4 separate regions of the Homo sapiens genome follow, and all the other regions are linked to region 2. The links are contacts of gene promoters, found by promoter capture Hi-C in blood cells and fetal thymus (Javierre and others, 2016). All regions are on one chromosome and are shown on one strand. The core of a region is centred on a gene start or on the middle of the fragment in contact, and the rest is flanking DNA. Distances in the headings are between cores, read along the strand shown. Region 1 overlaps PSMA3 (proteasome 20S subunit alpha 3). Region 2 holds the start of TOMM20L (translocase of outer mitochondrial membrane 20 like). Region 3 overlaps ARMH4 (armadillo like helical domain containing 4). Region 4 overlaps ACTR10 (actin related protein 10).

What was found. Contacts are between HindIII fragments. The CHiCAGO score rates a contact against its expected background, and 5 or more counts as called.
Region 1: a contact is called between a fragment that was not itself captured here and the fragment with the promoter of TOMM20L in region 2, in 1 of 17 cell types (erythroblasts). The highest score is 5.1, in erythroblasts.
Region 3: a fragment that was not itself captured here is called in contact with the fragment with the promoter of TOMM20L in region 2 in 1 of 17 cell types (naive CD8 T cells); the score reaches 6.4 in naive CD8 T cells.
Region 4: a contact is called between a fragment that was not itself captured here and the fragment with the promoter of TOMM20L in region 2, in 4 of 17 cell types (naive CD8 T cells, total CD4 T cells, total CD8 T cells and 1 more). The highest score is 6.3, in naive CD8 T cells.

The regions. Positions count from the first base shown.
Region 1 is chr14:58,259,902-58,262,743 of GRCh38, forward strand. It overlaps PSMA3 (proteasome 20S subunit alpha 3), which reads left to right. Exons shown (of 11, transcript NM_002788.4): 6 at 1,047-1,119. Among named protein-coding and RNA genes, the nearest start is that of PSMA3, 16 kb to the left of the region's middle. The HindIII fragment of the contact is 4,600 bases long and covers 1-2,842 here.
Region 2 is chr14:58,394,488-58,397,193 of GRCh38, forward strand. TOMM20L (translocase of outer mitochondrial membrane 20 like) reads left to right here and starts at 1,443. Exons shown (of 5, transcript NM_207377.3): 1 at 1,443-1,606; 2 at 1,811-1,854. The coding sequence starts at 1,471. TOMM20L-DT (TOMM20L divergent transcript) reads right to left here and starts at 1,218. Exons shown (of 2, transcript NR_187161.1): 1 at 814-1,218. RefSeq lists silencers at 1,251-1,770, 1,841-1,890. The HindIII fragment of the contact is 7,740 bases long and covers 1-2,706 here.
Region 3 is chr14:58,142,664-58,145,377 of GRCh38, forward strand. All of the region lies in intron 1 of ARMH4 (armadillo like helical domain containing 4), which reads right to left. Among named protein-coding and RNA genes, the nearest start is that of ARMH4, 8.2 kb to the right of the region's middle. The HindIII fragment of the contact is 3,451 bases long and covers 1-2,714 here.
Region 4 is chr14:58,201,732-58,204,431 of GRCh38, forward strand. ACTR10 (actin related protein 10) reads left to right here. Exons shown (of 13, transcript NM_018477.3): 2 at 1,124-1,196. Among named protein-coding and RNA genes, the nearest start is that of ACTR10, 2.9 kb to the left of the region's middle. The HindIII fragment of the contact is 1,894 bases long and covers 326-2,219 here.

The DNA.
Region 1 (2,842 bases), core at 312-2,811, 130 kb before region 2:
ATAAAAGTCTGTGCTCCATGCTGATTTTCTTCAAAGAAATGTTGAAAGGCTTTAAAATAGTGACAATGAGCTATATATCCTGAAGGATAAGTCTCATATCGGTAGAAAATGGAAGGAAATGACGGTAGGGATGGGAATTGAATAGTTAAAATATTCCGCATATAAGATGATGTGTAAGATGCTGCTGATTTCTTTTCTACTCTAAGGCAAATATAGTTGTCCCTTGGTATTTGTGGGGGATTGGTTTTAGGACCTCCCATGAATACCAAAATCCAAGGTTGCTGAAGTCCCTGATATAAAATGGTTAAGTATTTGCATATAACCTGTGCATATCCTCCTGTATGTTGTCATCTCTAGATTACTTGCAATACCTAACACAGTGTAAATAGCTGTTACACTGTATTGTTTAGGGAATAATGACAAGAAAATCACAGTTGTTCAGTACAGAAGCAATGTTTTTTGAAAGTTTTCTATCTGTGGTTTGTTGAATCCACAGATGCAGAACTCATGGAAACAGTGCCCACTGTATGTCACAATTTCAGAAAATCAGTATTTCATACAATCAGCTAATAGCCTAATTTGTTGAGCACAGAAAAATACACTGAACCAATTCTGATTATTGCAGAGAAATGATTGGCAGGATATTGGGAAATAGAATGAAGGGTGGAAAGAATTTCACATGGATTCAGTATACTCTCCGTCAGGAATTTTGTTCCCTTGATCTTTTTGTGTTTATGCCTTATTTATTGGGCCCTCTCATAGTTGTGGTTTTCATCTATCGTTACTCCTTTCCCTGTACTGCTAGACTTTCCAGGAGACCTTCATCAGAAAGATTAATACTAAACAAACAAAAGCTACATGAATTTTGAATAATCTCATGTAATAGTTTTAATTAATTGAAACCACTGTTTCAAAGTACTTACTGAGTTATATGTGTATTAGTAATTTATCTCAGAAAGAAAATATAACTGCATTTTAAAATAATTTTTTCACAAATACTTTTATGTTATTGCCATGGTTTAAGCTGTTTGTATACTTTCATGCAGTTTCATGTTAGGGTCTTACAGTGTGAATGACGGTGCGCAACTCTACATGATTGACCCATCAGGTGTTTCATACGTGAGTAATTTTGAATCATTTGAAATTCTATTTTAGTTTAATGGTATTTCATTAGCATTTAAGTCTCATTATAAGATTATATGAAATTAAAAAAAAACTCATTCAAGGAAAGTAATTTTTCTTTTTTTTTTTTTTACAACAACCTCTTGTCCAACAGAATTTTTTTTTTTTTCCTTTTTGGGGGAACAGGGTCTCACTGTGGCCCAGGCTGGAGCACAGTGGTGTGATCACAGCTCACTGCAACCTCTGCCTCCCAGGTTCAAACAGTTCTTCTGCCTCAGCCTCCCGGGTAGCTGGGATTACAGGTGTGCACCACCTGGCTAATTTTTTTTATTTTTAGTAGAAACAGGCCTTTGCCATGTTGGCCAGACTGGTCTTGAATTCCAGTCCTCAAGAGATCTACCCACCTGGGTCTCCCAAAGTGCGAGTATTACAGGTGTGAGCCACCAGGCCCAGCCATGTTTTCTTATCATTAATAACTGATACGAGGCAGAGGAAAGATTTTTTTTCAGTATGTTATTTATAGAAACTGTATAGTGCATATAGTATTTTGAATATGTGATTTTCCTTTATTACTATAAACACTGTCTTAAAACTGTATTTAATGTCTTTTTTCCTCATTCTTGCCCAGGCTGGAGTGCAGTGACACAATCATAGCTCACTTCAGCCTCTCAACTCCTGGGCTCAGGCGATCCTCCTACCTAAGCCTCCCAAGTAGCTGGGACTACAGGCTCATGCCACCATGCCTAGCTAATTTTTGTATTTTTTTGGTGTCTATAGAGACAAGGTCTTTCCACGTTCCCAGGGCTGGTCTCAAACTCCTGGCCTTAAGCAGTCCTCCTGCCTTGGACTCCCAAAATGCTGGGACTACAGGCGTGAGCATCGATGTCCAGCCATGTCATCCCTTTTATTTTATTTATTTATAAGATGGAGTGTCACTCTGTCTCCCAGGCTGGAGTGCAGTGGCTCGATCTTGGTTCACTGCAACCTCTTCCGCCTCCTAGGTTCAAGCAATTCTCCTGTCTCAGCCTCCTGATTAGCTGGGATTACAGGCATGTACTACCATGCCTGGTTAATTTTTGTATTTTTAGTACAGATGGGGTTTTGCCATGTTGGCCAGCTGGTCTCCAACTCCTGACCTCAGGTGGTCTGCCCACCCCGGCCTGCCAAAGTGCAAGGATTACAGGCGTGAGCCACAGTGCCGGACCTAATTTTGTTTCAGACAGCGTCTCGCTCTGTCACCCAGACTGGAGTGCAGTGGCGCCAAACCTCCACCTCCCCAGTTCAAGCAATTCTGCCTCAGCCTCCCGAGTAGGCTGGGATTAGAAGCATGCATCACCACACCCGGCTAATTTTTGTATTTTCAGTAGAGACGAGGTTTCACCATGTTAGCCAGGCTGGTCTCGAACTCCTGATCTCAAGTAATCCGCCCACCTTGGTCTCCCAAAATGCTGGGATTATAGGTGTGAGCCACCTTGCCCTGCCTTCCCTTTTAAAGAGAAGGTTTAAATGTGATTTCTAAGAGCTTTCCCTAAATTATTACCATTTTTTTTTTTTTTTGAGACAGAGTCTTGCTCAGTTGCCCAGGCTGGACTGCAGTGGTGCAATCTTGGCTCACTGTAACCTCTGCCTCCCGGATTCAAGGGATTCTTGTGCCTCAGCCTCTCAAGTAGCTGGGATTACAGGCCTGTACCATCACACCTGGCTAATTTTTGTATTTTTA
Region 2 (2,706 bases), core at 193-2,692:
GAATTACAGGCGTGAGCCAACACGCCCAGCCACCTATGTATTTTTATAGAGACAGGGTCTCATTCTGTCACCCAGGCAGGAGTGCAGTGGCAGTGATCAGAGCTCACTGCAGCCTCCAACTCCTAGGCTCAAGTGATCCCTGCAGAGTAGCTAGGGCTACAGGTGCACACCACGACCAGTATTTTTTTGTTTTGTTTTATCGAGACGGAGTCTTGCTCTGTTGCCCATGCTGGAGTACAGTGACACAATCTCAGCTCACTGCAACCTCCGCCTCCCGGATTCAAGCAGTTCTCCTGTCTCAGCCTCCCAAGTAACGGATTACAGGCACATGCCACCACACCCAGCTAATTTTTGTATTCTTAGTAGAGACAGTGTTTCACCATGTTGGCCAGGCTGGTCTCGAACTCTTGACCTTGTGATCTGCCTGCCTCGGCCTCCCAAAGTGCTGGGATTACAGGCATGAGCCATTGTGCCCGGCCCTTGTTTTGTTTTTTTAGAGATGGGTTCTTGCAATGTTGCCCAGGCTGGTTGGTCTCCAAGTCCTGAGCTCAAGTGATCCTCCCACCTCAGCCTCCCAAAGTGTTGGGATTTCAGTTGTGAGCCACTGCACCTAGCTAGACCCACTGGTATTCAGAGCAGTGATGAGCACCTTGCTATGCACACACTAGTAATAACAGTAAATTGTAAATCAGTAAATAGCAATTGTATAACCTAAATAAAAATGAATTATCTAGTTCTTTAGGTCCCTAGCTTATGCCTTTTCTCCTCCTTAGTAGAAAAGTCAGAACTCTGGTATTTAGGACAAAGTCTTACCTTCTTTCTTTCTGCTGTGTCCGCTGAGTAAGGCAAATATTAGAAAAGCAGCTAGGCCAGTATCATGGGACTCTCAGTTGTTTTTGCTTTGGGACCTTTGACTGTCAGTCTCAGCCCAGCAATTTAACGTATTTTTCTAGATTAAACAGTGTTGCTTCTGAATTCCTCCCTTGGACCTTGGACTGCTGGGTCCTTTCAGGAGACAAAGGATACCAGATTGGGGAGTACGGGCTACTGTTAGACAATGTGAACTAGGAGGTGACCAAAGTTGACCTTAGAGTCAACTTAATTTTGCAGGTGAGGGAACAGAGACCTAAACGACCACTGGCTCCCAGTAAAGCAGATTCGCAGCATACTGTGCTTTGCCTGAATGGGTGTTGTAGACACAGGGGCAGAGGCGTGTTTGGAGAAAGGGTTCAGAATTTGGAGTGCGACAGACGTAGGTTCGAACAGAGCTCTGCTACTCTGTGGCTGTGAGGGCTCCCGCACACACCCTCTCGAACGCTCGGCTTCCTCATCGGTCCGCAAGCCTGGGTGCGAGGCGTCAACGCGCAGCTGGGTGCGCAGGAGGCCCCGAGGCCGGATGGGCCGCCGCGCCGACGCCCCCTGCCGGCCGGCCCGCGCCCAACGCTCGGCTTGTGGGACGCCCGCGGTCGGATGCCCTCCGTCCGCTCCCTCCTCCGCCTCTTGGCCGCCGCGGCGGCCTGTGGCGCCTTCGCCTTCCTGGGCTATTGTATTTACCTCAACCGGAAGCGGCGCGGGGACCCCGCGTTCAAGCGCCGCCTGCGGGACAGTGAGTGGGACCGAGGCGGAGGCGCGGCCGGGCCGGGCAGCGCGGGCGGGCTGCCGGCCGGGAGGGCCCCCCACTGAGAGGCCGGGCCGTGAGTGCCTCAGCCTCTGCCGAGGGGCCCGCGGCGCCCGGGCAGGCAGGACCACTGGGCCCACGCGTGCCTCTGGACGGGCCTCCCAGCCAGCATGTGCCGTGTTGTGTTCGCAGAAAGAAGAGCAGAGCCTCAAAAGGCTGAGGAGCAGGGCACGCAGGTGCAGTGCTTTCGATCCGCACAGGTAGCTCAGTAGACGCAGGTCCGGGCTCGCTGGGTTGCTTGGCTCCTGGCGGGCTCGGCAGCAGGTAGTTAGTTCCCTCAGCCGCCCGTGCCCGGGAAGAGGCCTGCCCTCGCGCGCCACGCACCGCCTCAGGCCCAGTCACTCTCCTCTCACAAAAGGGAGGGAAGGAAGGAGGAAGAAGTTGGAGTTATAAAAAGGCAGCTGCAAAGCAAAACACTGTACAACAGGCACTTCTTTTAACTGGAAGAAGGAAGAGGAGCCTTTTGCCCTGTCAGAGCCGCACAGGACACTTAAAAACCCAGGCTGGCCACGGTCACATGGCAGTAACTTCTAGATTGTTCTCCCGCAGGGCCTTTCTTGTAGCTCAGAAGCAGAAGGCATCTTCGTGTTTTGTAAATCTCTGCGGCAAAATTTGATTAGTCCCTTTTTTGTTGTTTTTAAGAGGCGGGCCGGGCTTGGTGGCTCACGCCTGTAATCCCAGCACTTTGGGAGGCAAGGCGGGCAGATCACGTGAGGTCAGGAGTTTGAGACCAGCCTGGCCAACATGGTGAAAGCCTGTCTCTACTAAAAATACAAAAATTAGCCGGGAGTGGTGGCGTGTGCCTGTAGTCTCAGCTACTTGGGAGACTGAGGCAGGAGAATTGCTTGAGTCCGGGAGGTGGCAGTTGCAGCCTGGGCGACAGAGCAAGACACTGTCTATAAAAAAAGAAAGAGACAAGGGTGTTCCTATGTTGCCCAGGCTGAACTAGAACTCCTGGCCACAAGCAATCCGCAGTTGATGCTGGATGTTTACTTAGCTGAGATTGTTAGCCAGAGCACCTACACGTC
Region 3 (2,714 bases), core at 131-2,630, 250 kb before region 2:
GTTTCACCATGTTGGCCAGACTGGTCTTGAACTCCTGACTTCAAGTGATCCACCTGCCTCAGCCTCCCAAAGTGCTGAAATTACAAGCGTGAGCTCCCCTCCCCTTCCTTTCCCTTTCTTCTCTTTTTTTCTTTCCCCAGGCTGGACTTGAACTCCTGGGCTCAAGCAATCCTCCTGCATCAAGCTCCTAAGTAGGTAGGACTACAGGCACATACCACCACACAGCACAAGAAGACTGACTTTTTCTACGTGAGAAAAAAGGAATCCATGGATTTAGAGCTAAGGCTTCCTGCCAACTACCACCACCACATGAGTGTACCATCTTGGAAATGGGTCCAGCAGCCCCAGTCAACCCTTCAGATGACTGCACCCCTGGCTGACATCTTGACTACACCTTCTTGAAAGACTTTGTGCCATAACCACACAGCTAAGTTACTCCCAAATTCATGATGCATAGAACTGGTATAAAATAACAAATATTTATTGTTATTTCAAGCCACTAAGCTACGGGGTAATTTGTTACACAGAAATCTTGAGTCCACAATGCTGCAGGGAAATACAGGAATGGAATGACAGCACGAGTACAATAGTGTCATGTGCAGAAAAGAAACAGCCTATCAGGGATTACAAATTTAGCTGAAGAAAACTGAAGCCAGAGATGACTAGAAGAAACATAAGTCCCCAAACAATCTGCAAGGATAATGAGACGGGTGCTAAGTTTCCCCATATGCTGATGGGGGTTTGAAACAAACATATCTGAATATTAAATTACATGCTGGTAGCTAGCATTGTTTTTGTTTATTTGTATGTTTATTTTTGAGATGGAGTCTCACTCTGTTGCCCAGGCTGGAGTGCACTGATGCCATCTCGGCTCGCTGCAACCTCTGTCACCCAGGTTCAAGTGATTCTCCTGCCTCAGCCTCCCAAATAGGTGGGATTACAGGTGCTCACTACCATGCCTGGCTAGTTTTTGTATTTTTAATAGAGACAGGGTTTCACCATGCTGGCCAGGTTGGTCTCGAACTTCTGACCCCAAGTGATCCACCCACCTCAACCTCCCAGAGTGCTAGGATTACAGGCATGAGCCACCGTGCCCATCCTCTTTTTTTTTTTTTTTTTTTTTTTTCTGAGACAGAGTCTTGCTCTGTCACCCAGGTCGGAGTTTGATGGTGTGATCTCAGCTCACTGCTCCCTCCACCTTCCAGGTTGAAGTGATTCTCCTGCCTCAATTTCCTAAGTAGCTGGGATTACAGGTGCCCACCATCACACCCAGCTAATTTTTGTATTTTTAGTATGGACAGGGTTTAACCATGTTGGCCAGGCTGATCTAGAACTCCTGACCTCAAGCGATCCACCCACCTCAGCTTCCCAAAGTGCTGGGATTACAGGTGTGAGCCACCACACCTGGCCACACTGTTCTTTTTAAAAAAGAGAAAATGGCAAAGATATTTGATAAAGAGGAAATAGCATGTGCCACAGCATGTCAACATTCTGGACATTAGTTATCACTGTACTTTAGATGAGCCAGGATGCACTCTAGTTCATAGCCAGGTAACAGATCACTGAATTTGGCTTGATGCCTCTATTTGCCTTCCTTAAAACAAAAACGTAATGAAGGGGCCAGGTGCAGTGGCTCATACCTGTAGTCCCAATACTTTGAGAGGCCAAGGCAGGAGGATCATCTGAGCCCAGGAGTTTGAGACCAGCCTGAGCAACATGGCAAATCTCATCTCTACAAAATGAGCCAGGCACACACCAGTAGTCCTAGTTACTCAGGAGGCTGAGGTGGGAGAATCACTTGAGCCCAGAAAGTCAAGGCTGCAGTGAGCCGTGATCATACCACTACACTCCATTCTGGGCGACAGAGAAAAGACCCTGTCTCAAAAACAAACAGACAACAACAACAACAACAAAACATATGAGGCCTGGCGCAGTGGCTCACGCCTGAAATCCCAGCACTTTGGGAGGCCAAGGCGGGTGGATCACGAGGCCAGGAGATTGAGACCATCCTGGCTAACACGGTGAAACCCCGTCTCCACTAAAAATACAAAAAAATTAGCCGGGCATGGTGGCGGGCGCCTGTAGTCCCAGCTACTCGGGAGGCTGAGGCAGGAGAATGGCGTGAACCCAGGAGGCCGAGCTTGCCGTGAGCCAAGATCGCACCACTGCACTCCAGCCTGGGTGGCAGAACAAGACTCCATCTCAAAAAAAAACAAACAAAAAAAATATGATAGCTGTGAAACAAGAGAATTGACAGTCAATGAAATTACACCTTCGGATTTCTGTTCAGACAAACTGACCTACTAAATTCTATCTATATAGTCGAACAGTCATAAAAGCTATAGAACTCTGTGGTTCATTTCTGATCTGTTCAGATAGCTGCCCCTTCCTAAACAAATACTTTTTCTATTCAGTGAAATCTTACTAAACGTGTGGCCTAAAACCTTGGCCCACATGATCCCATACTTCTGAATAAAAATCTGAAAGCCCCAGGCCATCATGAATGGTAATAGAGTTTAGAGGGACTTGGGCTGGCATCAGAAAAATGATTCCTGAATCTTAGCTTTATTGACATTGAAACTTGCTATATGATACTGAGCAAGTGGCCTCAGTTTCTCCTTTGACAAAATGAGGAATTAAAATAATCATTCAAATCCCTTCTTCATCCATGATTTTATTCTCATACCTCACCTATATGACATGAAATAAAAATA
Region 4 (2,700 bases), core at 23-2,522, 190 kb before region 2:
TTTTAAAAATAATACTGTAATTCCAGCAGTTTGGAAAGCTGAGGCGGGCTGACCACTTGAGCCCAGTAGTTCAAGACCAGCCTGGGCAACATGGGGAAACCCAGCTCTACACAAAATACAAAATTTAGCCGGCGGTAGTGTCGTGCCCGAAATCCTAGCACTTTGGGAGGCCAAGGGGGGAGGATCGCTTGAGCCTGGGAAGCGGAGGCTGCAGTGATCTGAGTTTGTGCCACTGCACTCCAGCCTGGGCGACAGAGCGAGACCCTGCCTCAAAAAAAAAAAAAAAAAAAGTGATAGCAATGAAGATTATGTTAATATGGGCAGAAGCTTACTGTATGAGTTAATTATGTATGAAGTGTGATTAAAACTATGTCAAATATATATGCATAATCATAAGAAGTAGACTGAAAGTGAATACACCAATATGGAAGCTAACAATATTAGAATGATGGAATTATGAGTGATACAGATGAATTATATGAATGAAGTCACATAATGTAGTACAGATTCAGAGTTGTAGATATGTCTTGCCTAAATTCTGCTAAAATTAACAACTAGGAAAAAAGTTGGCCAGGCGCGGTGGCCCACGCCTGTAATACCAGCACTTTGGGAGGCCGACGCGGGCGGGTCACGAGGTCAGGAGATCGAGACTATCCTGGCTAACACGGTGAAACCTCGTCTCTACTAAAAAAAAAAAAAAAAATTAGCCCTGCGTGGTGGCCGGCACCTGTAGTCCCAGCTACTCAGGAGCCTGAGGCAGGAGAATGGCGTGAACCCGGGAGGCGGAGCTTGCAGTGAGCCGAGATCGCGCCACTGCACTCCAGCCTGGGTGACAGAGCCAGACTCCATCTCAAAAAAAAAAAAGTAAATGCTGCCCTAAAATAATACATTTGTTTTTTTCAGCATCACGAATTTCATAGAATTTTTTTCTGTTAATACACAAGCATTAATAAATAGTATTATTAGTTTTGTGGAGTGATTTTTTTTGATCCCTTAAAATACATCAGGTATTTTCAAATGTTATTGTGGCCATTGTTTTGAAACAAATACAGAGAAAATTAGTTTCTGTGACAAATATTTAAAAGAATACTATAAGTTGTTTCAATTTTCCATTTATTTGCAGGTGTGGATTTGCTGGAGAAACTGGTCCAAGATGTATAATTCCTAGTGTGATAAAAAGAGCTGGGATGCCTAAGGTATTTAAAAAAAAATATTAGCAAAATAAATGCCATACTATAAAATGTTTTAAAATATGACTTCAAGTAAGATTGATTAAAACAGTACTAAAGGCCAGCCGTGGTGGCTCACGCCTGTAATCCCAACACTTTGGGTGGCTGAGGCGGGTGGATCACCTGAGATCAGGAGTTTGAGACCAGCCTGGACAACATGGTGAAACCCTGTCTCAACTAAAAATACAAAAATTAGCCGGGAGTGGTGGCAGGCACCTCTAATCCCAGCTCCTCAGGGGGCCGAGGCAGGAGAATTGCTTGAACCCGGGAGGCGGAGGTTGCAGTGAGCCAAAATCAAGCCATCGCACTCCAGCCTGGGGGGCAAGAGCAAGACTTCGTCTCAAAAAAAAAAAAAAAAAAAGAAACAAGAAACAGTACTAAATATATACTTTGTGGCTATATTTCCAAGGAAAAGTTTTTCTTTTTAAATCAACTTTATCAAGGTCTAATTTTGCACACCATAAGTATATCATGTTGTACAAGTACCACCACAATCCAGTTTTAGAATGTTTTCATCACCCCAGTAAAATCCCTAATACCCGTTTACAATTAATCCTCATTCCTATCCTCAGCCCATTAGGGTGTACCTTCTGTTTCTATAGATTTGTCTTTTCTGTACATTTTATGTAAATGGAATCATATATCAAGAGAAAAATTTTAACTTCAGTAAAATACTTTTATAAGTCTTATAACCACTGAATTATTTTATTATTTATAATATATCAGATATTTATTCCCTTATTTACAGTTTCAAAACCCAGAGAATTTTGAAAACAAACTTTCAAAAAGTTTCTTGCCACAGCTAATTTGGCAGATTAGAAATTACAACCAGTAGAAAGAATGATTTTGCATGTTATAAAATTCACTTGTTAAAAAATGAGATGTAGCTGTTACCACAGTAACATTATATATGCATTCCAGAAAATACCTTTGTTCTGCAAAATGGTACATTTTTAAAAAACAAAACAAAACAGGCTTATGGGAAAAATAAGCTTGAGGTAGTCCATATAAAACCTGTGTAACTTTGTAATCAGAGGACTAGCAAAAACAATAATTGATGCCTCCACAAAATTTAAATAGGATTGGCAGGCAGCTGAGTGTGGCTGGAGGCTGTCTTAGGGAATATTAAAAATAAAATTGTGGGCTGGGCAGATTACACGCCTGTAATCGCAGCACTTTGGGAGGCCGAGGCGGGCAGATCACGAGGTCAGGAGATCGAGACCATCCTGGCTAACACAGTGAAAACCCATCTCTACTAAAAAAAAAAAAAAAAATTAGCCAGGCATGGTGGCAGGCACTGGTATTCCCAGCTACTTGGGAGGCTGAGGCAGGAGAATGGCGTGAACTCGGGAGGCGAAGCTTGCAGTGAGCCGAGATTGCGCCACTGCACTCCAGCCTGGGCGACAGAGCGAGACTCCATCTCAAAAAAATAAAATAAAATAAAATCGTGGAGGTGGTGCGCACCTGTAGT